Linked DNA regions of Homo sapiens: regions 2, 3, 4, 5, 6 and 7 are each linked to region 1. Evidence: promoter capture Hi-C in 16 types of primary human blood cells and fetal thymus (Javierre and others, 2016). All regions are on one chromosome and are shown on one strand. The core of a region is centred on a gene start or on the middle of the fragment in contact, and the rest is flanking DNA. Distances in the headings are between cores, read along the strand shown. Region 1 holds the start of BICD1 (BICD cargo adaptor 1). Region 2 overlaps ETFBKMT (electron transfer flavoprotein subunit beta lysine methyltransferase). Region 3 overlaps LOC124902913 (a long non-coding RNA gene). Region 4 has its middle 11 kb from the start of AMN1-AS1. Region 5 overlaps AMN1 (antagonist of mitotic exit network 1 homolog). Region 6 holds the start of H3-5 (H3.5 histone). Region 7 overlaps AMN1 (antagonist of mitotic exit network 1 homolog).

Region 1 (3,256 bases), core at 456-2,955:
TTGACACACAGAAAAGGAGTGTATATTACATTTAAATTTGTAAGTGGTTATTTGCTACCCATAGTGCCTCAAGAATCAGATAAAAAAGACCGAGTTACTTAAACAATATGTATGTTCTTAAGAGTGACTGATAGGAAATCAAAGCACGTTCATTGTTTTCTCCCATACATCCGACAGGCTTTAAAAGAGGCCAAATACCAAAAAACTAAAGAGACATTATACATCACCCATTTTTGATATTCTGGTTTTATAAATATATCATTTCAACCAGAAGAGCCTCATTTGAAATGCAACACTACCCACGTATTTGATATACACCACTCTTTCAGACTATTTGTAGGTGAGTTCAATTTTTTCTAGTCAGGGTGACCTCATAAGACTTGGACATGGCCCAGCCTCGCTCCGAGGTGAAATCAAGGCAGTGGGATCACCCAGCAAAGTTGTTTTTCTTCTGCAGCCCAATGACAAGAATGACTAAAGCCAAGCAGAATGAAGATTGCCTAGCCTTTGTCAAATGGGATTGGTGAGGAGTTCCCTCTCTCACCAAGGAGTGGTTACATCCAGAGGAAAGCTGAGGTGCCACACAGTCTAAATCCTGAAATTGTGGGTCCTCAGGCACAAACCTCATCACTTTTGTGGACTACGAAATTGTCGCTGAAACCTGGGTTTGAGATAACAGCGGTTTTGAGAAGTTTGATTTATACATTCCAACCCACTTGAATGTCGTCTTAGAGTGCTGAGACTTGATGACTCTTACTAATCTCCCTCCCCCGCAGGCCAAACAGCCATTGCCTCCCAAATTCCAGCTTATATATTCATTTCTTAGGCAATTTTTCTCTTGGGGGAGGAAACAATGGACTCTTTCAATCTTCTCTTACCAACAAAGGGCCCTAGAAGAAAAAACAGTCCTTTCAATCACCTCCTTTATGACTTCTTGATCATGATGAGTGGGCCTTGCGGGTGGGGGGAGTGAGGGCCAGGAAAGGGAGAGGTGACAGGCAACTCACCTCTTTGAGCTGCTCCAGCTCCTGTTTGAGGCTGTCGTACTCAGCCTCCAGTTCATCATACTGCTGTTTGAGGGTCAGCTTCTCCTCCAGCACCACCAGCCCGTACTCGGCAGCCTGGATCTTCTCGTGGGTGGTCTCCGTGAGCTCCTTGGTTAGCCTCTCTATCTCAGTCTTATAATGGTCCACCGTCTGCAATACCTCTTCTGCGGCCATAGCCCCGGTGGATGGAGGCAGGAGGGGGTTACGGGGTGGGGGAGATGGATGCGAAGCTGGCGGGGAAAGGGAGAAGGAAATGGGAAGGGATGGGTGGAAACGGAAAAGAAAGTGCGGCCGGATGAATGAGCAGCGCGATGCCCCGCCGGCTCTGGTGGCAGCGGCAGCTACACCGCCCGAGAAACTGACGAGAAATGCAACATGGAGAACAGGGCAGAGGGTCAGGGGCGAGGCGGCAAAGGCCGCCGCATGTGTCCTCGGGGCCGGCCCCTGCGTGCGGTCAGCAGCCGTGCGGCATGGCCCGGGCTGCGGCGGCCGCGGGTAGCGAGGGGCTCCGGATTCTGCTTATTCAGAGACGCCCGTCCGCCATGTCTCCCGGGCCGCGTCACTGCAGTCTCGCCCTGGGTCTGGCGCGCTCCGGCTCGCGGCTCGCTCTCTCGCTCCACCTGCTCCCTCTGGCCCTGCAGCAGCCGGTGCGGAATGATGCAGTCTCGGGGCCGGCTCCCTCCCTTCCCGCGTGGCGGCGGCTCCGAGCAGGGGGCGGGGAGCGGATGGAGTCAGCGCGGGGGGCGGAGGGAAGGACCAGACGGAAACATCCCGAGGCGCCTCCCGCCGGGCGCGCGGGCCGCCGCCCGCTGCACCGTGAGGCGCGCCAGGAGGAGGCGCAGGCGACGGGTCTGGGACTGGGAAGCGGTGGGGCGCGCGCGGCGGGGGAGCCTCCGCCCTGTCCGGCTCGCGGGGGCGGGAGCTCCTCCCAGGGCTTTGTCCCGGTGGCAGTAGAAGACCCCGAGAGCGGCGTGGGCGCCCGGGCTCTTTTGCTACGTCGAGGGCCGAAGCTCAGGAAACTGCCTGGAACGCTTTCTCCCGAGAAAAGCAAACAAAACTATCGCGGTCGCGGTCCGCGCATCCTCCTCGTCCCCTGGGCGCGCAGAAGGCTTTTTGGGCCACCTGCCCCCAAAAGACCGCTGGGTTTCCCAAAGCTTTCAAGACGCACCCCAAGGCGCCCTCCTCCGTCGTCCCCCTCTCTCCCTGCCTCTCCCAAGTCTGGCCTGGGCCACCTAACACTCTCACCAGATAACCTTACTATCCTCACAGGACAGTCCGCTAAATATTGCTCGCCCTCACCCAGCGTATCACAAGAGCGCTATCCACTCAGAAAAAAAATATCTCCACAATACATGCACCCAGGAAACCTCTAGCTAGGTACTGTATATCTTGCCCCAATAGTTTCCATCAAAGCACCTTACTCTGTGTCTTCAATAAAGGAAAACTGCTTGAAATTCCCTATATAAGATACCAACGATGCCCTGTAATAAGCATTTTTTAAACAATAAGAGCTAAGAGTTCTTGAGACCCATACCAAGCATTCTTCTAAGTATGTAACATGCGTTCTCTCCAATCCTAACAATGCTTTGAGGTAAGAGCCATTATCCTCAGTTTACAGGGGGTGAAAGGCAAAGGGAGATGTGATTTGTCCAAAGTCAGGCAACTCTGGAATCTTAACTCGGGAGCACTAAACGGGATCATTATGTTGGCTTCAGGTTCACTCATTACTCATACAAACCCAGCAACTACATATTACATGCTTTTAAGATAATCACATTAATCCATATGAAGAGTGATGATGAACGGTTACAAAAGGAGGTGAAAGCAAAGTAAGAGTGGAGTAAATGAAAGAGTGGAGAAGGGTCGAGAATCAAGAGGAAGAACGCAACATGAGAGAAAAGAAGCAATTTCTGTGTAACGGGAGGCTGTGAGACCCACAGATCAGTGGGTCTTTCCAGTTCCCTCTCTTCTTCTGCATGGCACCTATTCCAGAGCTGTTTCTCAGTGACCAGGTGATGAACACACATGCGTTTTCTAAGTTAGAAAGCAGGACTCAACTCTCCCATCATTGTGTACCTGGTAAAAAAAAAAAAAAAAAAAAAAAAGATGATTGTTGACCGGGCACAGTGGCTCACGCCTATAATCCCAGCACTTTGGGAGGCAGAAGTGGATGGATCATTTGAGGTCCGGAGTTCAAGACTAGCCTGGCC
Region 2 (3,554 bases), core at 144-2,643, 440 kb after region 1:
TTAAGCAAGTGAGGAAAAAACATATAAAAGGCCATGAACTATAACAAACTGGGGCTGATACCACTCGCAGGTCAGCCTGATCCGTTGCTGATTGCATTCTGCTTAACAAACTGTTTGCTGCCTTGCTACTTGTATGTGTCATGTCCAATTCTTTGTTGATGGCACTAAGAACCTGGGACTTGACATCAACCAGTTAACACTATGGCAAAGTAGAGGCATACATGCCCTGTCTAAATAGCTGCTACTGCCAGGCACGATGGCTCATGCCTGTAATCCCAGCACTTTGGGAGGCCGAGGCTGGCGGATCACTTGAGGTCAGGGGTTCGAGACCAGCCTGGTCAACATGGTGAAACCCTGTCTCTACTAAAAATACAAAATTAAGCCAGGCGCGGTGGCTCACGCCTGTAATCCCAGCACTTTGGGAGGCCGAGGAGGGCGGATCACGAGGTCAGAAGTTCGAGACCAGCCTGATCAACATGGTGAAACCCCATCTCTACTAAAAATACAAAAATTAGCCGGGCATGGTGGCATGAGCCTGTAGTCCCAGCTACTCAGGAGGGTGAGGCAGGAGAATGGCGTGAACCCGGGAGGCGGGGCTTGCAGTGAGCCGAGATCACACCACTGCACTCCAGCCTGGGTGACAGAGTGAGACTCTGTCTCAAAAAAAAAAAAAATTTTTTTTTGTAGAGATAGGGGTATCACTATGTTGCCTACGCTGGTCTCAAACTCTTGACTTCAAGCTGTCCTCCTGCACTGGCTTCCTAAAGCACTGGGATTACAGGCACTGCACCCAACAGAAGAGGGAAACTTTGAACAGCCCACTCACTCACAGCTCCTGTTTTATGGGAAAATAAGCAACTCTGGAAGGAATGTGAGGTTTATGGAGCGACATTCACTGAATTAAAGGAGAGCGAAAGGACTGGGTGTTTAGCTTCCATCTAGGAACTCTGCAATGGTCATGCGCTATGAACTATGAACCTCCTAACAGGTGAGATTTCTGGATCACTTATAGCTATCCAGGGTCTTGACAGCTGACTCTAGGATTTCTCTTGGGGAGACAGTTACTTGGGAAAATAGCTTGATAAGCTTGGGTTAGAATGGGAAATTACGCAACAAGGCAACAAAAAATATGGCTAACCTGAGGCTAGGCTCAGAGGCTCATGTCTGTAATACCAGCACTTGGGGAGGTTGAGGAGGCCAGATGTTTAAGACCAGCCTGGACAACATAGCAAGATCCTGTCTCTACCAAAAAAAAAAAAAAAAAAGAAAGAAAGAAAAAAGAAAACAACAAGACTGAGTTTTGCCGGTTTCTGTTTTGTTTTTGAGACAGGCCAGGCGAGAGTGCAGTGGCAGGATCACAGCTTACAGCCTCAGCCTCCCAAAGTACTGAGACTACAGGCATGAGCCACCACGCCTAGCATTGCTCTGGTTTTTTGTAGAGGTTGGAGGGAACTGAAAACAGCAAAGATCTGTAGCGCCTTAAAGGTTTCATTAGGGTAGTACCTAGACAGGGCTTGGCCTCCTGGCCAGTAGATTGCCCAGTAAGGATCACTGTGGGGCCACAGGTCAGCTCTCTCCCACCAGAATTTGCATCTGGGGGTCAAAAGCCGCAACTGGATTTCAGGGGTGAGGCTACCACTGCTGGTGACTTCAGTGTTCTCCTCCAGGAAAGCCTTTATCTCAGGGTCCAAAAAGCTTCCAGCTCCTCTCCAGGGACACTGGCCACAGGGAAACAAGAGAAGACCACTGCTTCGCAGAGCCTGCAAGAGGAGACCACAGTGGTTCCTGTGTGCTTTCCAACCTAGACTCAAAGCCATCAGTCCTTTCCCCAAACACAGGTTCTGTCAATGTTCTGTTGATAATAGCTGCTTCTCAAGGAGAATGAACAAGGGTGTGTCTCCCAACTTGATCTCAACCGGAACCTCTGACTCTGAAAAAAAAAAGAAAAGTAATACTGAGAATTCTGAGGAAGAGCAACATTTCTAGATCCTATTACATAATAAGAAAATATTGGCCGGGCGCGGTGGCTCACGCCTGTAATCCCTGCACTTTGGGAGGCCAAGGCGGGTGGATCACGAGGTCAGGTGTTCAAGACCAGTGTGGCCATCATGGTGAAACCCTGTCTCTACTAAAAATACAAAAAATTAGCCAGGCGTGGTGGCGGGTACCTGTAATCTCACTACTTGAGAATTGCTTGAACCCGGGAGGCGGAGGTTGCAGTGTGCCGAGATCGCACCATTGCATTCCAGCCTGGGCAACAAGAGCAAAACTCCGTCTCATAAAAAAAAAAAAGAAATAAAATATTACAGTGTATATTACTGTATCTGATGATTCACATGTGCAAGTTCATTTCAGATGAAAGCTTTGGTGCATCAATTGGGAAAATCCAATCTTTTTAAATGATACTTTTCACAAGAGAATCCTTTTAGTAATTTAACACAACAAATATACAAGCATTTGATTTTGAAAGAATCCTCAAGAAAATGCCTCTTACAGGAAATCAGCCATACAGTCATCCTTCAGTATCCTCAAGTGATTGGTTCCGGTATCCCCTGCTTCCAGGATACCACAATCAGAGGATACTCAAGTCCCTTATATAAAATGGCATCATATTTGTATATAAACTAGGCATATGCTGTGGTATACTTTACTTTAAATCATCTCTGGATGACTCATAATACTTAATACAACGTAAATGCTATATAAGTAGTTGTTACACTATTTTTGTGTTATTTTTATTGTTGTAATTTTATATTGCTATATTGTTATATTGTGGGCCAACTGTACCTTTAAAGTTCTTTCATAAATTTAACAAAGTAGGCATGCTTGGTAACTGTGAACAAAATAACAGAAGTCTTCTGTCTTCAGGAAGCTTATATTCTAGTGGTGGGATAAAGCAGTTAACAGGGCAAACACAGTTTTTGCCTTTATGAAGTCTAGCCAAGAGTTCTGGGGGTTAATGAATTTATAATTGTCTGTGGGCAGAGATATATTAATACAAATTATATTGACTACTCTATTTCATTAAAGATTGTTGTATCATAAAACAATGCAATCAAGATTCAGGTTTTTTCCTTTAAAAATACTGTATGCATTTAATTGTAATAAAAGAACATCAACTCCTAAATCTCTTTCTGTAAAAGTATCTGATGGTTCGATTTTACCAAGCCTAAACTGAAAAGATTTGCTCCAACAGAAAAACACCTGTGCAATTGATCACTAAGATTTGTTTAAAAATATATATATATAGAAAAACACCCGGATTAGAATAAATGAGAATGAGGAACAACTTAAACACAACTTATACACCCAGTTGTTTGGGGACCTCGGATCTCTTCTGCATAAATGTTTTAAATGGTCTTAAATCCACTAAAGTATTTAGGGGTCAAAAATCCAAATCCCCACAAGGGGCTGGACATCATAAATGAGTGATGCAGGCTGGCTGTAAAATAACAGAGGGGCTGTGGCAAGCTGGAGACTGTTTTCAAACAGTTCAAAAAGGCTAGGCAGGACATGCTGCCAGATCCTCCGATTTCTCAAAATCATCAAAAAAA
Region 3 (3,270 bases), core at 676-3,175, 460 kb after region 1:
CTGGGTGTTCCTCTGAGGGTATTTCTGAAAGAGATGAACATTTGAGCCCGGGCGTGGTGTCTCACGCCTGTAATCCGAACACTTTGGGAGGCTGAAGGAGGTGGATCACCTGGGGTCAGGAGTTTGAGAACAGCCTGGCCAACATGATGAAACCCCATCTCTACTAAAAATACAAAAAATTAACCGGGCGTGGTCGACAGTGTCCCCTGGCACCGCTGTATGTGCAGCAACAGATAGGTAAAATCTAAGGTTTTAGGACAGATGTGTGAAGGCTGCTGGTGAATGGATGGGACCAGGACAAAGAGGGTACCTCAAGTACAAGGTGCTCTTTGATCAAGCCAAGGACCATTACGGGTTGCAGGGTTGTTTCCCTCCCGGTCAGCCCTGACAGCTAAAGGGACATCATTTATGCCAGTGCTCCAAGCCACCCTTCAGCTCTTTTGGTTAAACCAACATGTATGGCTCTGGGCTGGGCATGGTGGTGCACGCCTATAATCTCAGCAGTTTGGGAAGCCGAGGCGGGAGGATTGCTTGAGCCCAGGAGTTTGAGGCTAGCCTGGGCAACATAGCGAAACCCCAACTCTACAAAAAAATACAAAAATTAGCCGGGTGTGGTGGAGTGCACCTGTAATCCCACCTACTTGGGGGCTGAGGTGTGAGGCTCACTTGGGCTTGGGCAGATGAATGTGCAGTGAGCTGTGATCATGCCACTGCACTCCAGGCTGGGTGACAGAGGGAGACCCTGTCTCAAAAAAAAAAAAAAAAAAATGTATGGCTCTGGCATTTTTCACGTTTGCTGAAGCATGTTCCTTGGGGGCATAATGAGAACACAGGAACCTTGTCTATAATGCATAATGACCATCGGAGGAAAGAATCCCCAGCTAGCTCCATTGTCAGCAACTATCAAGAACCTGCTAGGGGGCCAGGTGCGGTGTCTCATGCCTGTAATCTCAGCACTTTGGGAGGCCGACGCAGGCGGATCACTTGAGGTCAGGAGTTCGAAACCAGCCTGGCCAACATGATGAAACTCCGTCTCTACTAGAAAAAATATAAAAATTGTCCAGGTGCGGTGGCTCACGCTTATAATCCCAGCACTTTGGGAGGCCGAGGTGGATGGATCACTTGAGGTCAGCAGTTCAAGACCAGGCTGGCCAAAATGGTGAAACCCTGTCTCTACTAAAAATACAAAAATTAGCTGGGCGTGGTGGCATGCCCCTGTAATCCCAGCTACATGGGAGGCTGAGGCAGGAGAATCGCTTGAACCCAGGAGGCAGAGTTTACAGTGAGCTGAGATCGCACCACTGCACTCCAGCCTGGGTGACAGAACAAGAGTCCGTCTCAAACAAACAAAAACGAAAAACAAAAATTAGCCCTGTGTGGTGGTGTGTGCCTGTAGTCCCAGCTACTCAGGAGGCTGAGGCAGGAGAATTGCTTGAACCCGGGAGGCAGAGGTTGCAGTGAGCTGAGATCACGCCACTGCACTCCAGCCTGGGCAACAGAGTGAGACTCCATCTCAGAAAAAAAAAAAAAAATTTGTGGGAGAAACAAAAATGAATAAGACTTCGGTCCTACCTTCATGGAGTTTTAATATGAATCTGAGTAGTTTCAAAATATGCCTAATGAGACTCAAAATAATCCATATGTCACAGAATGAATTCTGTTAAAGGGCAGAACAGAGTGGCTCTAAAGTCAATCTGTTCCACCACTTACTAGCTCTGTGAGCTTGATTAAGTGCCGTAACCTCTCTGTGCTTCGGTGAATTTGTCTATAAGATGAGAGAACAAGGCCGGGCACGGTGGCTCACACCTGTAATCCCAGCACTTTGGGAGGCCGAGGTGGGTGTATTGCTTGAGCTCAAGAGTTTGAGACCAGCCTGGGCAACATGGCGACACCCCATCTCTACTAAAAGTACAAAACAAAATAAAATTGAAAAATGAGAGAACAAGAAGTACCTACTTCATAGGTTGTGGTGAGGATTAAATGAGTCAATGCCTATAAACTTCTTAAAGCAAGGCCTGGAACATAGAAAATGTTCTATTAATATTAATAATAATTATTATTTAAACTATCAACAAATATTGTGTCTCTGCATGAGACGTAACAACCAAGAGTTTTATAAAGGTGGCACAAGGATACCTCATCTCTTGGTTATTTTGGGAGTCGGAAACATTGTAATGGAGACACTTAGTTTCCAGGCTCTCAAACAAAAGGTTCTCTAAGCCGTGTTATCACTTGAGAGTTGCATGTTTTCAGTTTAAAGACAAATTTAAGACCATTCTATTGTAATAACCGAAAATTAAATGGCACACTGATAAAAAGAGAACCAGCAGCGTTTTATTTACCTTGAAAGGTGGTAATTTAAGAAAAACAGGGGAGATTTTAACAGGATGAAGAGGAATATAAAAATTTGTGACAAGATGAAAAGAAATATCGGGGTACTTGAAAGGTTTTAGAGGTTGAGACTCAAGTATTTTTTTTAGAAAGTCTTATTTCACCCTGGGACTTACATGACTTTTTTTCCCCAGCCATTACTAGAAGGGGTTTTGCACCTCCACACGGTATTAAAAGCGACAGAAGAGGACAAAAGGAAGATATGTATACAGGAGGGAGAAATAAATTATGTGCAATGGAATTAACTCAGCTTTAAGAAATAAGGGCAGGATGGAGAGTCTTCAAAAGGAAATATAAAATATTCCCAGCAGTCCGGGACCTCTATACCTTCAATGATCGTGTTACCGGAAAAGGGATCTCTATCCAGACCCCAAGAGAACGTTCTTGGATCTCGAGCAGGAGGGACTTCAAAACGAGTCACAGAGTGCAGTGAAAGAAGCAACGTTATTAGAAACTACACTGTTAGAGTAGGGCATCCTCAGAAAGCAAGAGGAGGAACGCCTCGACTTTGTTTTTTGTTTTTCTTCTCTAGAGATCTTGTCTATATAAAGGCTAAGCTAAGCTGTGTCCACGTGTGGGTGAGCAGACAGCATGACAGAATGTATGACTACTGATTTAAAGAAAACTGGCCTTGACATTCTAGTGTGTGGATACATCAAAGCAAAACTATTATTATCTTGAAAACAGAGATTGTTATGGGTATTGGACATCTGGACTCTTGGCTGTAGTAGGAGTGTGTCCTTGTAGGTATCTTTAGGCTGTTTCTTCCACTGTAAACAGCCCATGAATGTGGGTCGTGACCAGCAGAGAATGGGCTTTACTATTTCTCAAGATGGAGCTGAACTTAAAATGGTGCTACTCTGGCCCTCCTAGGCTCCT
Region 4 (3,281 bases), core at 666-3,165, 370 kb after region 1:
TAAATAGCAGCTTTATTAAGGTATGATTCATATACCATACAATTCACCCATTTAAAGTATATATTTTTAGTATATTCACAGAATTGTACAATTATCACCACAATCAATTTTAGAACATTTTCATCACCCCAAAAAGAAACTCTGTACCTCTAAGCAGTATATTTGCTCTTCCTTACCCACCCCACGGATTGCTAGTCCGCAGATTTCACAAGTCTGACAATTTCTTGGCAAATCTCAAGTAAAACATTGCCTCTCTAGAGAGACCACCTTACTACCCCTTTTAATTCTTCCTTGAATCTGTGGAGGATGGTGCTTGTTGTTTATAGTCATTCCTTCTCCCTTCCTCTTCTTTTTTAACAGAATCCTGATTTTGTTCAGGTATCAGATGGCCATGTGCTATAGGGGTATTCAGACTCATGCCCATCCTGAGGGATGAATTATGATTGATCTAAGTCATATCTCATTTCCCTTGGTAATGATTGGTTTAATCATAGCAAGTGCCATAGTACTGAGGATGCTGCTGTGAGTTCTTCTAGGCAAAGATTTTGTGTTCTTAACAAGAGAGATGTGAGAAAAATACAAGTACATGTTACCTGCCTCCAGGAACTTTAGTGTTCTCCTACCCTACCCTACAGTGTTATATTTCATTCAACAAACAACTGAGTGCTTAGTATGTGACAATGCATTGCTTATTTCTTAAACAGTGGCAAAAACAAATGCTTGAGAATCAGAAATATACTCAATTTTACTTTCTGTCTAACATGTCTAATGCCAATTCCAGCTGTCACATGCGTATTTCACAAGTAAAATGGAATAAGTCAAATAAGAGGCTCAAAGTAAAGCAATGAACTAGAATTTTCCTAACTTGCATCCTCAGTGCAAGGATGTATTGCTTGGACCTGCAGAGCCATCTTGAAAGCATGAGAGGAAAACTCAAGGGAATCACAGAGGTTCTGAGCAGGAATTATAATGTCATTAAGCCACTGAACAACCAACCCTGGAACTATCCTATTCTGACCTCCCTCCTCTTATTCTGACCTCCCTCCCTCCCCCGCTTCCTCTCTTCCTCTCTTCCTTCTCCTTCCTTCCTTTTCTCTCTCTTTTTTTTTTTTTTTTTTTTTTTGAGACAGTGTCTCACTCTGTTGTCCACTGGAGTGCAGTGGCACAGTCTTGGCTCATTGCAGCTTTGACCCCCCCCAGGCTCAAGCGATCCACTCACCTCAGCGTCCTAAGTAGCTGGGACTACAGGCATGTGCCACCACAGCTGGATATATATATATATATATTTGGAAGAGATGAGGTTTTCCCATATTGCCCAGTCTGGCATTCTGACTTTTCATGTGAGATTAAAACCTTATTTTTTTCTAGGACATAACCAAACACAATAATATTTGCAGTGGAAGGCTTTGTGGTTTGTGGTGGAAAGACTCTTAGTTGGCCCCACGATCCTTGCCTCCCCTTATGTGATCCTTTCCCCTTAGTGTGGGCAGGATCTGTGGCTCGCTTCTAACTGAAAGAAACAGTAAAGATGATGGGATGTATGTGATTGTGTGTACATGATTGGGGTCATGTTACATAAGATGGTAGCACCCATCTTTCTCCCCCTCCCCCAGTTTAGCTTTGAGGGCGCAGATGGCCATGTTAGAGGACTCTGCATGGCAAGAAATACAGGCAGCCTCTCAGAGCTGAGGGCAGCCTCCAGCCAACAGCCAACAAAAAACTTGAAGCTCTCAGTCCTACGACCTCAAGGAACTGAATTCTGCCATTAACATGAGTGAACTTGGAAGTGAGTCCTTCCCCATCTGAACCCAGGTGAGACTGCAGTCCCTGATGACAGCTCGATTGTAGCCTTTTGAGACCATAAGCAGAGGACCCAGTCAAGCCATGCTCAGACTCCTGCTACTTGGTAAATGTGTATTGTTACAAAACAATGAAACGCTAATAAGGGTATGGCTATTCACACCTTTTCCCCCTAATTTTTAAAATTTATCAATAAAAATTATTATTAAAAAATATAAATAGGCTGGGCGTGGTGGCTCACGCCTGTAATCCCAGCACTTTGGGAGGCCGGGGTGGGCGGATCACCTGAGATCAGGAATTCGAGACCAGCCTGGCCAACATGGTGAAACCCCGTCTCTACTAAAAATACAAAAATTAGCTGGGCATGATGGTGGGCGCCTATAATCCCAGCTACTCGGGAGGCTGAGGCAGGAGAATCACTTGAACCCGGGAGGCGAAGGTTGCAGTGAGCCGAGATCGTGCCACTGCACTCCAGCCTGGGTGACAGAGCAAGACTCCATCTCAACAAAGAAACAAACAATTAAACAAACAAACCAAAAAAATATATAATTTAAATAGCTTCACTCTCCTGTTCACCTGTTCAACTCCTCACTCCTCTTCCCATTCATTAATTGATTCCACATTTATCCACTCTTCACACAGAAGAGTCTGGGCAGCAAATACAGGAAAATCCTTTTGGCTTCAGAGTTTTTTGGGCTTCCAAATTGCAGATAAAGGACTGTGGGCTTTTAGTATATAGCCATAGAATCACTGGGGGATGGAACAAGACACTATTTGTAAAGGCTTGGAACAAGATTCAGCACACAGGAAGGGCTCAATAAATAATAGCTGTTATGGTGATTAGAATTAGAACTCCTGGGGCAGGTCTCTCTGACTGCTCTGTTACTCCTTGCAAGTCACTTCCTTTCTCCGGGCCTCAGTTTCCCCATTTTTAATAGGAGGGCCCCTCAGAGAAGCTCTCAAAAAGAGGGTTGAGCTCCTGTTCTGGAGGTGGCTCTGGACTGGGTGCTCATGAGCTGCAATACGAATTGCTCCTGAGCGAATGGTACACAGTCTGTTTGCGGCCTTAGTTTGTGGCAAGCCTGGGGAAATGGCTTCTCCTTGCCTAATCTCAGGTTCTCTACTGTCAAATGGGGCCAGAAGGTCACTCCCACCTAAACACATGAGAAAAGAGGCAGGACAAGGTGTACTCACTCTGGACTGGGCTTGTTTGTTTTTTAAAATATCATTTGAGGGGAAGAACAGATGCAAGGGTTTGCCTGGCTTCTCCTCATATACACAAAAGAACCCCCCACCACCCTAATCCCAACCCCCATCTCCACCCCAGCACAGAGCAGAGAGGAGTGACTCCTTGTCTCTGGCCTAGTCTTCTGTGCAATTGGAGTGAGGGCTGCAGGTCTTCACCTGCCCAGACCACCACACCCACCTCTGCATTCCCCATTTCTTTTTTTTCCTTATTTATTTATTTATTTTTGAGACAG
Region 5 (3,565 bases), core at 266-2,765, 420 kb after region 1:
ACCAATTTTCTTTTTTCTTTTTTTGAGGCAGAATCTCACTCTGTCACCCAGGCTGGAGTGCAGAGGCATGATCTTGGCTCACTGCAACCTCCACCTCCTGGGTTCAAGTGCTTCTCCTGCCTCAGCCTCCCAAGTAGCTGGGATTACAGGCTTGCACCACCCTACCCAGCTAATTTTTGTATTTTAGTAGAGACAGGGTTTCACCATGTTGGCCAGGCTGGTCTTGAACTCCTGACCTCAGGTGATCCACCTGGCTCAGTCTCCCAAAGTGCTGGGATTACAGGCATGAATCACCATGCCTGGCCTAAATACCAGTTTTCAAGTCTGGAAAATATACTGGAGTGGTTAATCAGATTTTCAAACCAAGGAGTCTTTTGAGATAAATTATGTCATTATGGAGATCACTAGTAACCAAAGATATGTTAACAGATCATGGATTTAAGATAAATGCCTAGTTGATGTGATTTCAGACACCAGGAAAGCTTAATGACACTAAATGATTAATGAGTGCAATGAGCTTAATCACACTAAATGATTGCAATGAGCTGAGATCACGTCATTGCACTCCAGCTTGGGCAACAAGAGTGAAACTCCGTTTCCAAAAAAAAAAAAATAATAACAAATGCGGTTGAGCATTCCTTTTTTCTTTCTTTCTTTCTTTTTTTTTTGATAATGAGTCTTGCTCTGTCGCCCAGGCTGGAGTGCAGTGGTGCAATCTTGACTCACTGCAACCTCCGCCTCCCAGGTTCAAGTGATTCTCCTGCCTCAGCCTCCCAAGTAGCTGGGATTACAGACGCCCGCCACCAGGTCTGGCTAATTTTTGTATTTTTAGTAGAAATGGTGTTTCACCATGTTGGCCAGGCTGTTGTCGAACTCCTGACCTCAGGTGATCTGCCCGCCTTGGCCTCCCAAAGTTCTGGGATTACAAGCGTGAGCTACCACGCCCAGCTGTTTGAGCGTTCTATAGTGGAAAAAATGTGAAAGTCATGGTATTAACTAAATTTTCATTTAAGAGTGTGGGAAGAATGATCCTTCAATGGACAGCTTTGGAGGGACCAAGGGAGACAAAAGTAGAATTGCTGTTAATGTTGAACCTTAAGAGCCATCTTTGTTCAACATACAAATTAAAATACCATTATAGGCCAGGCGAAGTGGCTCACGCCTGTAATCCCAACACTTTGGGAGGCTGAGGTGGGCAGACCACTTGAGGTCAGGAGTTCAAGACCAACCTGGCCAACATGGTGAAACCCTGTGTCTACTAAAAATACAAAAATTAGTTGAGTGTGGGGCTGGGTGCCTGTAATCCCAGCTACTTGGGAGGCTGAGGCAGGAGAATAGCTTGAACCTGGAAGGCAGAGGTTACAGTGAGCCAAGATCTCCGCACTGCACTCCAGCCTGGGCAAGAGTGGGCAGGACTCTATCTCAAAAAAAAAAAAATAATAATTATGGAAAACAAAATTTATAAAAATCTAAAAGATATGTGATATAAATGTAACTCACTTAAGAAGCATCTTAGATTTTGTATTCCCCGTATGTTTCAGAGCAATTCTATTGGTTTTACCTTCGTATTTTTATGTTGGTGATGAGAAAACACTTAACCATTTGTAGGTTTCAGTAATTGAAATAATACTTTCTGGTAGTATTTTTCAAATAGACCCCAGGACCCATTTACATTCTTAAAAATTATTGAGGATCCCAGGCCGGGCGCGGTGGCTCACGCCGGTAATCCCAGCACTTTGCGAGGCCAAGGCAGGTGGATCACAAGGTCAGGAGATCGAGATCATCCTGGCTAACACGGTGAAACCCTGTCCGTACTAAAAATACAAAAAAATTAGCCGGGCATGGTGGCGGGCGCCTGTAGTCCCAGCTATTCAGGAGGCTGAGGCAGGAGAATGGCATGAACTTGGGAGGCCGAGCTTGCAGTGAGCCAAGATCGCACAACGGCACTCCAGCCTGGGCAATAGAGTGAGACTCCATCTCAAAAAAAAAAAAAAAATCACTGAGGATCCCCAAAGAGTTTTTGTTTATGTATATTTGTTAAATTAAAATTTCTATTAAAACAGATAAATTTTAATAGACATTCATTTTTTAAAAATCGTAAATCTATTACCTAGAAAAGAGATATATTTTCATTCAGATCATCACTTTTCAGATCATTGTGGATACTCTTCTTTGATACCCCAAAACTCAGCAAGTGGTAATTTCTTATGGGTTGTTGCAATGTGGAACTTGAAAACATATCAATGAACTTTGCGTACATTTTGTTATGATGCACTTTTCATACATTTGTGTTATGATGCACTAGTCTGTCTTGAATTTTGAGTTGATCTTTACCAATGCATGATTTTGTAACATCATGCATTGGCAGTTCGGAAAATATTGGTTCTCTGAGTTATATAGATCTTTTAAATATTGACACATTTTATTATCCAAAACAAAAATCAGTTGTTAACATAATAACTGATGTCATTAGAAAGGTCCTGGATAGCTTTCAAGATCACAGTGGCAGCTACGAGGCTTCCAAAATTCACTTGAAAGCTAAAGCTTTATCACTGACAACAAATTCTGTCATTTGTTTTCTTTGAAATGACAGCCTCATTTCTTCTATTTTCATGAAATAGTCTGCCAAGTACTCAAATAAGAATAACCTTACACTGTAGTCATTGTATTAGTCCGTTTTCACACTGCTGATACAGACATACCCAAGACTGGGTAACTTATAAAGAAAAAGAGGTTTAATGGACTCACAGTTCCACGTGGCTGGGGAAGCCTCACAATCATGGCTGAAGGCGAAAGGCACGTCTTACAGGGTGGCAGGCAAGAGAGAATGAGAGCCAAGAGAAGGGGTTTCCCCTTTTAAAACCATCAGATCTCATGAGACTTATTTACTATCATAAGAACAGCACAGGAAAGACTTGCCCCCATGATTCAATTACCTCCCACCGGGTCCCTCTCACGACACATGGGAATTGTGGGAGCTACAATTCAAGATGAGATTTGGGTGGCGACACAGTCAAACCATATCAATCATTCTTTTAAAAAGTAAAAATGGTGTTCCATGAGAAAAGTAACTAGTTCAGTTCACAACCCTGAAAGGGTCTCAGACTACAGAATATGCAGACTACACTTTGGGAACCACTGCTTTATGGTAAAGAAAAATTATCAGTCAACTTCAACATTTGCAGCAAGAATAGCATATCATTTTCTGGCCAGGTGTGGTAGCTCACGCCTGTAGTCCTGCACTTTGGGAGGCCAAGGCAGGCAGATCACTTGAGATTAGGAGTTTGAGACCAGCCTGGCCAATATGGTGAAACCCCCTCTCTACTAAAAATACAAAAATTAGCTGGGCATGGTGGCGCACGCCTGTAATCCCAGCTACTCTGATGGCTGACGCATGAGGATCACTTGAGCCTGGGGGGCAGAGGTTGCAATTAGCCAAGATTGTGCCACTGCACTCCAGCCTGAGTGACAAGGTGAGACACTGTCTCAAAAAAAAAAAAAAAAAGAATAGCATACCCCTTTCAAATCACTTCTTATATTTTTGTGTGGCTGCCAGAAGTAGTGG
Region 6 (3,413 bases), core at 183-2,682, 310 kb after region 1:
GGCAAAGTCTCACTCTGTTACCCTGGCTGGAGTGCAGTAGTGCAATCTGGGCTCATTGCAACATTTGCCTCCTAGGTTCAAGCAAGTCTCCTGCCTCAGCCTCCCGAGTAGCTGGGACTACAGGCGTATGCCACCACGCTTGGCTAATTTTTGTATTTTTAGTAGAGACAGGTTTTGCCATGTTGGCCAGGCTCGTCTCAAACTCCTGACCTCGTGATCCACCTGCCTCGGCCTCCCAGTGCTACCATTACAGGCGGAGCCACCACACCTGGCTCACTTTGTGGCATATTTCTAGAAGTTAAAAAACTCACCTGACAAAAGAGATACTTTGTGGCCAGGCACGGTGGCTCACTCCTGTAATCCCAGCACTTTGGGAGGCTGAAGTGGGTGGATCACTTCACGTCAGGAGTTCGAGACCAGCCTGGCGAAAATGGTAAAACCCCCGTCTCTACTAAAAATACAAAAATTAGCCAGGTGTGGTGGCAGGCACCTGTAATCCCAGCTACTTGGGAGGCTGAGACAGGAGAATTGCTTGAACCTGGGAGGTGGAGGTTTCAGCGAGACGAGATCGTGCCATTGCACTCCAGCCTGGGTGAGGACAGTGAAACTCCATCTCCCAAAAAACAAAAAAAAAAAAAAAAAAGAGAGAGAGAGAGAGAAACTTTATGATTTACTCCATGGAACAAATATCATATAGAACTGTAACATTTAAAAGTCAGATTTCTGTTTCTAAACTTTAGGTTTATACCTCTTGGCAGATGACTAGATGATTCTTTCCCCATTCCAAGAGTAACAGATATTCAGCCAACTTGTGTGTGTGTTTATCACATGTGATTCCACATTTCAGTTTGTTTCTCTATATTTTTTGTATTTTAAATTGGACAAGTATTACTTTTATAATAAGAAAAAAGATAATTACTAAAAATAAATGAGAAATACATATACATGTAGAATTTGCATAGTGTCAAGTAAATGATAAGGGTAGAAAGAGTGCAGAGAAAAAAAGGATGAAAACGAAGGTGGCTGAAGAATGCTTTGTGACGGAGGTGGGATTGAAATGAGCTTTGAAAGGCCGGGTGCAGTGGCTCACACCTGTAATCCCAGTAATTTGGGAGGCTGCGGCGGGCGGATCACCTGAGGTCAGGAGTTTGAGACCAGCCTGGCCAACATGGTGAAACTCCGTCTCTACTAAAAATACAAAAATTAACCAGGTGTGGTGGCAGGCGCCTGTAATCCCAGCTACTCTGGAGGCTGAGGCAGGAGAATCGCTCGAACCTGGGAGGTGGAGGTTGTAGTGAACCGAAATCACGCCACTGCACTCCAGCCTGGGCAACAAAGCGAGACTCCGTCTCAAAAAACAAAACAACAACAAAAAACGAAACACCGAAATGGGCTTTGAAGAATGGAAGGGATGCAGATAAAAGAGAGGAGGGCGCAGAGCGGTTTGGTCGTTCGTTGGACCAGTGTCGGTTCTTCGCTCGCGACTGCGGCTCTTCCTCGGGCAGCGGAAGCAGCGCGGAGGTCGGAGAAGTGGCCTAAAACTTCGGCGTTGGGTGAAAGAAAATGGCCCGAACCAAGCAGACTGCTCGTAAATCCACCGGTGGGAAAGCCCCCCGCAAACAGCTGGCCACGAAAGCTGCCAGGAAAAGCACCCCCTCTACCTGCGGGGTGAAGCCTCATCGCTACAGGCCTGGGACCGTGGCGCTTCGAGAGATTCGTCGTTATCAGAAGTCGACCGAGCTGCTCATCCGGAAGCTGCCCTTCCAGAGGTTGGTGAGGGAGATCGCGCAGGATTTCAACACTGACCTGAGGTTTCAGAGCGCAGCCGTCGGTGCGCTGCAGGAGGCTAGCGAAGCGTACCTGGTGGGTCTGTTGGAAGATACTAACCTGTGTGCCATCCACGCTAAGAGAGTCACCATCATGCCCAAAGACATCCAGTTGGCTCGCCGGATACGGGGAGAGAGAGCTTAAGTGAAGGCAGTTTTTATGGCATTTTGTAGTAAATTCTGTAAAATACTTTGGTTTAATTGGTGACTTTTTTTGTAAGAAATTGTTTATATGTTGCATTTGTACTTAAGTCATTCCATCTTTCACTCAGGATGAATGCGAAAAGTGACTGTTTACAGACCTCAGTGATGTCAGCACTGTTGCTCAGGAGTGACAAGTTGTTAATATGCAAAACGGATGCGTGATATTTCTTGCTTCTCATGATGCATGTTTCTGTATGTTAATGACTTGTTGGGTAGCTATTAAGGTACTAGAATTGATAAATGTGTACAACAGGGTCCTTTTGCAATAAAACTGGTTATGACTTGATCCAAGTGTTTAACAATTGGGGCTGTTAAGTCTGACCATACATCACTGTGATAGAATGTAGGCTTTTTCAAGGGTGAAGATACAAACCTTAACCACAGTGTAACTTATAGTTTCCTTTAAAAAAAAAAAATTAAACCTGGCAGCTATAGAATACAATATGTGCATTTATAATAGCTATTTTATATATTGTAGTGTCAACATTTTCAAATTAAATGTTTTACATTCACAAGTGGTGGGGAGTCTTGTCATTAAGGTGTGTGTAATTTAGAGTCCAGTTGGTTTTCTTCTGACTGCACTTGTTCTCATAGTAGTAAAATGCTATGTGCATTTATACCTTGCATAAATCCTCATTCTACCACATGTTAACTAACCCTCTAGCTGATAATGGAAACACTAACTGGGGGATTTTATTTATAAGGGCTCTAGAAAAAAATATGAGTTATTCACACCAGCATCATCTGTTAACTAATATTCTGAACTAGTGCAGCTTTTCATTGTGTTGTGTGGTTGGTCTCATAACTAGGTTGAGTTTTCTCCTCTGCTAAGAGGAAACAGTACTGAAGTTCTTTTTCTTGTGGCATTTGTATTATAAAAACTTGGTGTAGGGGAGGAGCACAAAGCTCTAGCCCACTGAACCTCTGCCGGTTAAGATGGTGTTAGGTTAGGTTACATCTGGTTACTGTCCTGGGAAAATCATTTTTATAGAGATGGCCTTCCAAGTGGTTTTAAAATTTATCTTATTGAAGTTTTTAGGTCAATTATGTATGTTGACTAAATTTACAAATAAACTTGTTTATCCAAAAAAAAAAAAAGAGAGGAAAAGAATCAGAAATATTGGAGAGTAGAAATGCAACAGAAGAGAACTATAAAGTTTATGTTGGGGGAAAACAATTAGTTTGTCTCAAGTGTAGTATTTACGCAAAGGAGAAAACTTTAGGGATGTAGGGCCCACATTGTAAAGAGCTTGGAATTAGGATTTAAGGAATTTTATACTCTATCCTGCAAAATTCACAGACAAATTTGAGAACTGACTAGCATTTTAACTTGCAAAAAAAGACAAGTTAGTACAGAACTAGCACATCTAATTTTTAAAAAAG
Region 7 (3,554 bases), core at 1,010-3,509, 400 kb after region 1:
GTGTGGTAAGCATGCCTCTAGAAGCTGAGGCAGGAGGATCTCTTGAGCCTAGGAGGTTAAGGCTGCAGTGAGCTGTGATTGCACCATTGCACCCCAACCTAGGCAACAGAGCAAGACCCCATCTCGGGAGAGAGGGAGGTAGGGAAGGAGGGAGGGAGGGAGGAAGGGAGGGAGGGGGGAATGAATGAATTCTGTCATATGCAGCAACATGGATGGAACTGGAGGTCATTTTGTTAAGTAAGCCAGACACAGAAAGACAAATGTCACATGTTCTCATTCATATGTGGGAACTAAAAAAAAGTGGATATCATGAAGATAGAGAGTAGATGGGTGGCTAACAGAGGCTGGGAAGGGCAGGGGATGGCGGCATAGAGAGAGGTTGATTAATGGGTATAAATACACAAATAAAAAATAGTGTTCAATAGATGGGTAGGGTGACTATAGTTAATAATAATCTATTATACACTTCAAAATGGTTAGAAGAGAATAATTTGAATGTTCCTAGCATAAACAAAAGATAAATATTTAAGGTGATGGATAACCCAGTTACCCTGATTTGATCTTTACACATTATATGAATGTATCAAATTATCACATGTACCCTGAAAATATGTACATCTATTATGTATCAGTTTTTAAAAATAACAAAACAGGCAAAGGATATGTATAGATTGTTTATGGAAAAGCATATCCAGATAGCCAGCAAGCTCATGCAAGGATGTTGTTTATTGGTAATTAGAGAAATACAAGTTAAAGTAATAGTGAGACATCATTTTCACCTGTTAGGCCTTCCAACATTTAAGAGTAGGTGATCTTGAAAACAGTGCTGAGTGAAAAACTAAACAAATCTATGACAAGTCCCATGTTTATAAATTAGAAATGCATGCATACAATAAACATGTTAAAAGGAAATATACAATGAAAGGATACACATTAAACATGAGAATGGTTTCCTAGAGGGGTGGGGAATGGGAGTGGGAAATGGAGATAACAAAGAAATGGAAAGAATAAATAAAATTAAAATTAAATATAAAATAAATAAATAGGGCTGGGTGCGGTGGCTCATGCCTGTAATCCCAAGTGAGGAGTTTGGACCATCCTGGCCAATATGGTGAAACCCCATCTCTATTAAAAATACAAAAATTAGCCAGGCATGGTGGCACACGCCTATAGTCTCAGCTACTTGGGAGGCTGAGGCAGAAGAATTGCTTGAACCTGGGAGGCAGAGGTTGCAGTGAGCTGAGATCATGCCACTGCACTCCAGCCTGGGTGACAGAGTGAGACTCTGTCTCAAAAAATAAATAAACTAGCCATGATATCTATTGCTGGAAGGATGTAGAGGGAAAGGAGCTTTCTGACACTACTAATAGAAATATGAAGTGTTTTCCAGACTTTCTGAAAAATAATCTGACAACATATCCTAGAAATAGTGGTAATGCTTGTCAGCATACAAGTCACTAAATAGATCATCCGTACTGTGAAATATGATGTGACCATTAAGGGAGAATCAGTACTGTGTCGGATGCCTTGAAGGGATTTCATAAGATACTGAATGAAAGACAGTGTATAAAAGTAAGTGTACTGTGGTGCCGTTTTAGGAAACAATGACCCCTCCCCCACACAAGCCTTTAAATGTGTGTGTGTGTGTGTGTGTGTGTGTGTGTGTGTACAAGAACAGAGAAAAATAAGAAAGAATATATGCTACATTGGTGTAGAGAGCTAATGGAGGGGGAAGGACAAGAGAGGAAACTGTGTAGGAAACCAAAAGAGGAAAAAGAAAAAATTAACATTGCACTAAAAAATTAATCACAGGTATATGATCACATTCACTCATGAATGTAAAATTTTGTATATATGGGGATATTTGTAGACAGAAATTAATAAGATTTGTATTTGTTTCTTTAAAGTATGAGTTTTTCAGATGGTTGGAATTTCAGGACACAGATAAGATATGTTGGTCATAAGATTCTTGGTTGTTGCCTGATAACTCTACTTTCTGCCTATACAACCCTGGCACTGAGTTTGATATCTCTGTGATTTGTAATATTTGCTGAATCTTTGTGGTTATGGTTCTTTCTCTAGTGATTTCATTATCCACATAGTTTTCAAGAAAAATAGTAAAAACAAGTTTGCTGGATTAACAGATAAAACTTTTCAATTAGTGGGTCCCAATATAAAGCTTATTTAGGAGTATGTGTCTTAGAAATTAGACACTTAGGAAAAACATTCTTGTTGGTCATTTAAAATGCATTTTGATAAATGAGGTATGCATAGAAAAAAATTGTAGAGGAAGAGCATCTTGTCCGTAATTTAACACAGACTAGGTTTTTGAAGCTTACAGAGCTAAAGTTGTAAATATAGTATTAATATAAAATGTATATACTTTTTTTTGAGACAGGATCTTGCTCTGTTGCCCAGGCTGGAGCGTAGTGGCACAATCACAGCTCACTGCAGTCTCGACCTTCTGGGCCCAAGCGATCCTCCCACCTCAGCCTCCCAAGTAGCTGGGACTACAGGCTCACATCACCATGCTCAGCTAATTTTTGTATTTTTTTTCTTTTTTTGTAGAGACAGGGTTTCACTATGTTGTTCAGGCTGGTCTCAAACTCCTGAGCTCAAGCCATCCTCCTGCCTGGGCTTCCCAAAGTGTTGGGATTACAGGCGTGAGCCACCACACCCAGCCAAAATGTACACACTTTTATGAAAGGGCTAAGTGCTAACAAATAGCATTAAGACAAGTGTTAGGAATCAGTACAGGCCCAGTGTGATTTACTATATTGTATTTGTATTTCAGATGCCTTTGGTGCTTCATGAAGAATATTTCCAGATATCTCACAGACATTAAGCCTTTGCCTCCCAACATAAAAGACAGACTGATTAAAATAATGAGTATGCAGGGACAGATAACAGATTCAAATATAAGTGAGGTAAGAGTATGAATAACTGTAAAGCAAGCATATTATATTTTCTGTTTAGATATGGTTTTAGATTTTTGGAACAATGGTATATGGTAAGACTGGTAATCATTTTTAATTTTTTTTTTTTTATACAGGGTCATGCTCCGTTGCCCAGGCTGGAGTACAGTGGTGCAATCTCAGCTCACTGCAACCTCCGCTGCCTGGACTTAGGTGATCCCTCTTCAGCCTCCTGAGTAGTTGGGACTATAGGTGTACACCACCATGCCTGGCTAATTTTTGCATTTTTTGTAGAGACAGGGTTTCACCATGTTGCCCAGGCTGGTCTCGAACTCCGGAGCTCAAGTGATCCATCCGCCTCAGCCTCTCAAAATGCTGGGATTACAGGTGTGAGCCACCATGCCTGGCCCACATTTTAGAATATTATAAAGTATAAGGGTTTGTTTTTTTCCCTCCAGATAACCAAAATGTCCATATGTAATTATCAGAGGAACCTGCCCCCAATATTTCAATGTAGGTTCTTTCTATTTTTCCTAAGTGTCGGCTGGTCTGAGAAATAAAGAGAAAGAGTACAAAGAGAGGAATTTTACAGCTGGGCCGCCGGGGGTGACATCACATATCGGTAGGACTGTGATGCCC

What was found. The method cuts DNA at HindIII sites, captures the fragments that hold promoters and counts their contacts. A CHiCAGO score of 5 or more calls a contact.
Region 2: a fragment that was not itself captured here is called in contact with the fragment with the promoter of BICD1 in region 1 in 6 of 17 cell types (activated CD4 T cells, non-activated CD4 T cells, total B cells and 3 more); the score reaches 7.9 in activated CD4 T cells.
Region 3: a fragment that was not itself captured here is called in contact with the fragment with the promoter of BICD1 in region 1 in 4 of 17 cell types (activated CD4 T cells, neutrophils, fetal thymus and 1 more); the score reaches 8.2 in activated CD4 T cells.
Region 4: a contact is called between a fragment that was not itself captured here and the fragment with the promoter of BICD1 in region 1, in 1 of 17 cell types (total CD4 T cells). The highest score is 5.3, in total CD4 T cells.
Region 5: a contact is called between a fragment that was not itself captured here and the fragment with the promoter of BICD1 in region 1, in 10 of 17 cell types (non-activated CD4 T cells, total CD4 T cells, naive CD8 T cells and 7 more). The highest score is 8.8, in non-activated CD4 T cells.
Region 6: the fragment with the promoter of H3-5 here is called in contact with the fragment with the promoter of BICD1 in region 1 in 5 of 17 cell types (total B cells, activated CD4 T cells, naive CD8 T cells and 2 more); the score reaches 7.1 in total B cells.
Region 7: a contact is called between a fragment that was not itself captured here and the fragment with the promoter of BICD1 in region 1, in 10 of 17 cell types (non-activated CD4 T cells, total CD4 T cells, naive CD4 T cells and 7 more). The highest score is 10.0, in non-activated CD4 T cells.

What each region holds. Positions count from the first base shown.
Region 1 is chr12:32,105,296-32,108,551 of GRCh38, reverse strand. BICD1 (BICD cargo adaptor 1) reads right to left here and starts at 1,705. Exons shown (of 10, transcript NM_001714.4): 1 at 1,008-1,705. The coding sequence starts at 1,220. It overlaps BICD1-AS1 (BICD1 antisense RNA 1), which reads left to right and starts at 1,090. Exons shown (of 3, transcript NR_185992.1): 1 at 1,090-1,158. RefSeq lists enhancers at 98-735, 1,263-1,342 and a silencer at 1,703-2,182. The HindIII fragment of the contact is 11,162 bases long and covers 1-2,202 here.
Region 2 is chr12:31,660,217-31,663,770 of GRCh38, reverse strand. ETFBKMT (electron transfer flavoprotein subunit beta lysine methyltransferase) reads right to left here. Exons shown (of 4, transcript NM_001135863.2): 2 at 1,504-1,930. The coding sequence starts at 1,817. Among named protein-coding and RNA genes, the nearest start is that of ETFBKMT, 2.3 kb to the right of the region's middle. RefSeq lists an enhancer at 1,569-1,688. The HindIII fragment of the contact is 609 bases long and covers 1,089-1,697 here.
Region 3 is chr12:31,641,511-31,644,780 of GRCh38, reverse strand. The region is part of intron 1 of LOC124902913 (a long non-coding RNA gene); the gene reads left to right. Among named protein-coding and RNA genes, the nearest start is that of ETFBKMT, 17 kb to the left of the region's middle. The HindIII fragment of the contact is 8,322 bases long and covers 1-3,270 here.
Region 4 is chr12:31,739,042-31,742,322 of GRCh38, reverse strand. No RefSeq gene overlaps it. Among named protein-coding and RNA genes, the nearest start is that of AMN1-AS1, 11 kb to the right of the region's middle. The HindIII fragment of the contact is 3,903 bases long and covers 1-3,281 here.
Region 5 is chr12:31,682,904-31,686,468 of GRCh38, reverse strand. All of the region lies in intron 6 of AMN1 (antagonist of mitotic exit network 1 homolog), which reads left to right. Among named protein-coding and RNA genes, the nearest start is that of ETFBKMT, 25 kb to the right of the region's middle. The HindIII fragment of the contact is 2,062 bases long and covers 485-2,546 here.
Region 6 is chr12:31,790,317-31,793,729 of GRCh38, reverse strand. It overlaps H3-5 (H3.5 histone), which reads left to right and starts at 1,432. Exons shown (of 1, transcript NM_001013699.3): 1 at 1,432-2,545. The coding sequence starts at 1,564. The coding sequence ends at 1,971. The HindIII fragment of the contact is 13,966 bases long and covers 1-3,413 here.
Region 7 is chr12:31,708,666-31,712,219 of GRCh38, reverse strand. It overlaps AMN1 (antagonist of mitotic exit network 1 homolog), which reads left to right. Exons shown (of 7, transcript NM_001113402.2): 2 at 2,795-2,927. Among named protein-coding and RNA genes, the nearest start is that of AMN1, 19 kb to the left of the region's middle. The HindIII fragment of the contact is 155 bases long and covers 2,182-2,336 here.